Regions from separate parts of the Homo sapiens genome. Here region 2 is linked to region 1. Evidence: promoter capture Hi-C in human tissues and cell types (Jung and others, 2019). All regions are on one chromosome and are shown on one strand. The core of a region is centred on a gene start or on the middle of the fragment in contact, and the rest is flanking DNA. Distances in the headings are between cores, read along the strand shown. Region 1 holds the start of PC (pyruvate carboxylase). Region 2 holds the start of RIN1 (Ras and Rab interactor 1).

Region 1 (2,700 bases), core at 52-2,551:
CACACGGAAAGGTAAAAACCTCAGGCATTTGGGAAGGGCTGCCCCCACAGATCATTCACAAGTAAATTCTTGCTGGCCTCCCATAAACAAGGACAGGTCAATTGTAGCTTCAGGTCTACAATCTAAGTCTAGCTCCTAAAAATTCCACAATAAGAATGTCATTACAAGCTTATTTTCCCAGGTGCAGAACAAAGTCAAAACTACCTACTCAGAGACATCTGCATAACTGACTCTTCCTTTACTCTCTTTTTCTCTTCAGACATTCATCTCATCTTACGTAGATTTACCGGGCATTAGCTAAAGTCCCATAGGAATGTAACTATTGTCCTAATCGCCTACTTGCCCTTCTTCCTACATGCCTTCCCCTCATTCCCCCTTTAAGGAAATGCATAAATACTAAACCTCCCGAAAACCTCTTCGGAAAAACAACCACGGATGTGTCTGTGGTTCGTGTTTTTCCCGAGCACGCCCTCAAACTGGATTAATAAGCCTCGATGACAGAGACTTATGCCTCAGTCACTTGTTCCACTTGTCAAAGCTTTCCTCTTTGACAAGTGTCTTGGGTCTTGTCAAGTGTCTTGTGTCTCAAACAAGGCTTCCAAACCCCCTAGGTCCTGAGTAGCTTCGCTCTGCAGATGACAAAACCGAGACTCAGAGGTTAAGTTGCTTGCCCAAGGTCACACAGACGTACTGTAGACCCCCATCATCATCTACGCAGCTGTTAAAGGACATAGTCATGTAACCCGTGTGGCACAAGCGCCTTCTCCTTCCTCCTGCCCTTCGCTAACGTTAGCTTTTCCTGCGACCTCTTCTCCGCTAGCCAGCGCGTATCTGCGTCTAGCCGGGATGCCTGAGCCCCAGTGCGAACTGTTGTGCTTGCAGCTTCGGGAGACACGTGCTACTCGGGTGAATGAATCGAACGTCCCCACCCCCGCCGACAGCCAATAACTGCGAGCCACAGCCCGGCCACTTCCGCCTATTGCGGGCGTCGGCTAGGGTCCGGCGGCCCACGTGAGGCTCCGGAGACAAGGGAGTAGGCGGTGGTGCGCCAGGGGCGGGCTCTCCCAGCCTCGCCACTTATCCAGGCGCTCGCCGGGGACGGGAGGGGCGGGGCTGACGTGGGGCGCCAAGGCTTAAACGTGACGGACAGGCGGGCACAGGGAGGAGTCCAGAGCCTAGGGGCGAGGAGTGACGGAGAACACTGCCCAATAACGGGAGGGGTTGGGCTGTCTGGGCCAATAGGAAGTCCGTAAGGCGGGGCCGGGACTGCAGCAAGTTCGGTTGCACGGAGACCGCAGCTGTTCTCTGTCAGTGGAGGCAGCAGCGGTAGAGGCGGCGGCGAGGACTGGCGACGGCGAGGAGGTGAGTGTCCGCCGCGCTCCGCACGGTCCTCTTCCCGCGGCGGGTCGGAGCGGGTGGACGTGCGCCGGCACCGCTGCGAGGGACGCTTATGTAAGGGTCGCGCGCGCAAAGGCGGCGCGGGCTCCGCGAGTGACGGCTGGAGGAGACAGCGACGGGCTGTGCGCGGTGCGCGACGCGACGCAGCGGACGGCGCCCCTCCCCCTCGCGCGGGGGCTCGGCCGGCTGGACCCGCCCCCGGACCCGCCCCCGGCTGCAGCCCCCGAGCGCCCCTCCGCAGCGTCCGCCTGCGGGCTGCCTCATTCTTGCTCTCGGGCCCATTTTGCAGATGGAGAAACTGACTAAAGCGCCTCGCGCGAGGTCCCTGAGGGTTCGAACCCAAGTCTGTCAGGATCGGGAGCCCAAGTTGTCCCCATCGTACTGGATGTGGCTCAGCTCTGCAGGAAGCCGCGGCGTGTAAGGCGAGGGCTTTCCTTGTTCCTTGCTCTCGCACTCCGCCTCCCGTAGGATCCTCTACTTTGTTTCAGACGGGGAAGCTCCAGGCGCCCAGACGCAGTGATTCGCCCAAGGCCGCTCATTCAGGAGGTGGGGCTGGGCTCAGCCCCTTATTTCTCCAGCTTTTAGTAGTTTACAAAGCGCATCAGAGTCGGAAGCCAAGTCCCTAGGTCCCTGGCAACTTTGAGATTCTTTTGTTTTCTTTTCTTTTTTAGACAGGGTCTTGCTGTCACCCACCCAGGCTGGAGTGCAGTGGCGCGATCTCGGCTCACTGCAGTCTCGACCTCCCGGGCTCAAGCGACCCTCCTGCCACAGTCCCCCAGTGCTGGGACTACAGGCGGGCGCCACCACGCCTAGCTAATTTTTGTATTTTTTGGTAGAGACGAGGTTCCGTCATGTTGCCCAGGCTGGTCTCGAACTCCTACGCTCAAGCGAGCGGCCTGCCCTGGCTTCCCAAAGTGCTGAGATTACAGGCGTGCCTCGTCTGAAATTCTAAAAAATCAGATTGTGTCTTTATTTTGTGAGAAGAGGTAGGCCTGGGCTCCTTACCCGTTCTCCAGCTGAGAAAACAGGCTCAGAGAAGTACCAACACTTGCTGATGACAACCAGAACCTCCAGAGTGCCTGCCATCTGCCTCCCTATTGCTCCCGTACCCACTGCCACCATCAGCCCTGGCTGGCCTCCCCCAAGGCACCCTTTCCCTGTATGTGATGCAAACACTTGTGCTGGGGGTGGATGTGCTCAGCATTTCTCTCACTTGCAGCTACAGCTTCCTGCCTGCAGGCTCTCCTTAACTGTTGAACTCTTAATCACATTCTTTTGCACACCTACAGTGTTCCTATCCCT
Region 2 (2,714 bases), core at 1-2,500, 620 kb after region 1:
GTGGCCGTGGAGCTGACCTGACCAGGCAAGGCTGCTGTCTCCATCCCTGAGCCGCCTGCCACCTCCCACTCCTGAAGATCCATCTCTTGGGGCTCCCCTGACAGAGAAGACAGCCGAAGTCAAAGCCACATCCTCTTGCTGATGTTGGATGCAGGCTGTCCGGCCTCAGGGCCAGGGAGCCAGTTTCCACTGTGCGGGAACTCTGAGTCAGACGTGATTATCTGGGGGTCTGTCCACCCTGGCTGGATCTGGAGGCAAGATGCCAGGCCCCCCAGGTGTTCTCAGGGCAGTTCTTGGTGTCTGCTTCTCAGATTCCAAGGACTGGAATTAAAACCTTTCCTGGGACTCTGGCGTGCCCTGTGTGTGTGTGTGATTTACCTTGCAAGAGAATCAGGGCTCCCGTGGGGAGCACCTGAACCAGGCCGACTTCTAGGGTGCCTGCAGATTGCCACTCCTCACACTACCCAGCAGAGGCTAGAGCACTGTGCGTGGGGCCAGGCTGGGGAGGGGGAGGTGGGCGCTGGGCTGCCTGGCGCTGGGCAGAGTCAACATATGGCACCGGGAGAGTGCCTCGGCGGGGAGGGTGGATGCGTGTGCTTGGAGCCTGGGTCATGTCTGCACCTGTCCCAGTTGCCTGGCAGATTGGCAAGGCAGGCTGGCAGAGCCTGCGTGCGTGGGAGGCAGCCGGCAGCACCGCCATGTGCTGACGACCTCACAGCCAGACTCCCCCTGGTTAGCACTGAGTGTCAGAACCACCCCCAGAACCTCAGTTAAGCAAATAGGTTGGTTTCCATGGAGACATGGCATATTTTCTCCATGGCAACCTAAAATCCTAAAACCCAGGTTCAGGAATGAGTCATCTATGGACAGTAGAGGGTGCTCTCCCACAAGGCTGACCTGAGGCCAGGGGCAGATGAGCAACTGACCACAGAGCCAAAGGTGCCCCCAGAGCATGGCTGGGGCCTGTGGGGACTGAGGCCGCTTAACCACTTCCCGCCCACGTGTGCAATGTGAGTAGCTGGTGAGGCTGCAGGAGGCCGTGTGTGGAGGTGGCATCCCCCAGCTGGGGCCCTCAGAGCAGGGCTAGCATGGAGGGGACCCCTGACCCCCAAAGCAGGGTCCAGAACAGAGGAGGCGGGCACTGGCCAGGCAGGGTGGACACACAAGAGTTAACTGGCGGGTGTGACAGGCGGACCGCCCTCAGGAAGTGTTACTCACTGGGGATGTGCGTGCCTTGCCTTGGGACTGGATTCTCTTCCTGAAGCGAAGGAGCTCCCAGCCATGGAAAGCCCTGGAGAGTCAGGCGCGGGCTCTCCTGGAGCCCCCAGCCCGTCCAGCTTCACTACTGGGCACCTGGCGAGAGAAAAGTTAGTGAAGTTGGCAGGGCAGCCAGGTGGGGCAGGGAGGGGCTGCGAGAGGAGGGCCTATCCGGGGATAGAGAAAGTGGGAAACCCGGGAGTGGGGAAGAGGAGAGCAAGGGTCCCAGCCCCTGGCTCCCTGCTCAGATCTGGGTGCCTGCCCCCAGGCCAGCCCAGGACCCACTGTATGACGTGCCCAATGCCAGCGGCGGGCAGGCAGGCGGGCCGCAGCGGCCGGGGCGCGTTGTGAGCCTGCGGGAGCGCCTGCTGCTCACCCGGCCCGTGTGGCTGCAGCTGCAAGCCAACGCAGCGGCCGCACTGCACATGCTGAGGACCGAGCCCCCGGGGGTGAGTCTTGCCCCACACTCCAGGGACTGGCCAGCCAGGGGTGGGAGGGAGAGGGATGGGACGCCAAGGTCCTGAGCTGCCTGAGCCCTATCCACTTGCAGACGTTCCTCGTGCGGAAATCTAACACCCGCCAGTGCCAGGCCCTGTGCATGCGGTTGCCTGAAGCCAGTGGCCCCTCCTTCGTCTCCAGCCACTACATCCTGGAGAGCCCTGGCGGTGAGGGGCTGGCCTGGCGGGAAGGGGCTGGAAGCAGGGAGGTTCCCCAGAGAAGCACCTCACTTCCCTCCTCTCTCAGGCGTCTCCTTGGAGGGCTCGGAGCTCATGTTCCCAGACCTAGTCCAGCTCATCTGTGCCTACTGCCACACCCGGTGAGTCTGCCCGCAGGGTGCCTGGTGTCCACGGGCCCTGCTCCTTGGGACAGCCCATCCTTCCCGCCCTCTTCGGCCCTCACTCCCTTCTGCTCCCCTCTCTGGCCTCAGGGACATCCTTCTCCTCCCGCTGCAGCTCCCCAGAGCCATCCACCACGCAGCCACTCACAAAGAGCTGGAGGCCATCTCCCATCTGGGCATTGGTAAGGGCTTCCTGCCACCCATTGCACAGATGAACAAGCTGAGGCCGAGGGGAAGGCAAGGCTCGCAGCACACCGCCCGAAGCCCCTGCCTTGCCTTGGTTGGGAAACTTCCCCTAACCAGTCCCGGAGGCCCCAGTCGGTTTCTTGTTCCCTAGAGTTCTGGAGCTCCTCCCTCAACATCAAGGCTCAGCGGGGCCCGGCTGGAGGCCCAGTGTTGCCCCAGCTGAAGGCCCGGTCCCCTCAAGAGCTGGACCAGGGCACCGGAGCCGCCTTGTGCTTCTTCAACCCCCTGTTCCCGGGGGACCTAGGGCCCACCAAGCGGGAGAAATTCAAGAGAAGCTTCAAAGTGCGCGTGTCCACAGAGACCTCCAGCCCCCTGTCTCCACCTGCCGTGCCACCTCCCCCCGTCCCCGTGCTGCCAGGGGCAGTCCCCAGCC

The links. Contacts are between HindIII fragments. The study calls those that stand out against the background at their distance.
Region 2: the fragment with the promoter of RIN1 here is called in contact with the fragment with the promoter of PC in region 1 in 1 of the 25 tissues and cell types used here (bladder).

What each region holds. Positions count from the first base shown.
Region 1 is chr11:66,956,984-66,959,683 of GRCh38, reverse strand. It overlaps PC (pyruvate carboxylase), which reads left to right and starts at 1,301. Exons shown (of 23, transcript NM_001040716.2): 1 at 1,301-1,362. RefSeq lists silencers at 864-1,223, 1,544-1,643 and enhancers at 1,294-1,343, 2,507-2,700. The HindIII fragment of the contact is 6,851 bases long and covers 354-2,700 here.
Region 2 is chr11:66,334,970-66,337,683 of GRCh38, reverse strand. It overlaps RIN1 (Ras and Rab interactor 1), which reads left to right and starts at 1,250. Exons shown (of 10, transcript NM_004292.3): 1 at 1,250-1,367; 2 at 1,526-1,706; 3 at 1,808-1,922; 4 at 2,002-2,074; 5 at 2,186-2,277; 6 at 2,433-2,714. The coding sequence starts at 1,282. It overlaps BRMS1 (BRMS1 transcriptional repressor and anoikis regulator), which reads left to right. Exons shown (of 10, transcript NM_015399.4): 10 at 1-345. RefSeq lists an enhancer at 1-770. The HindIII fragment of the contact is 7,337 bases long and covers 1-2,714 here.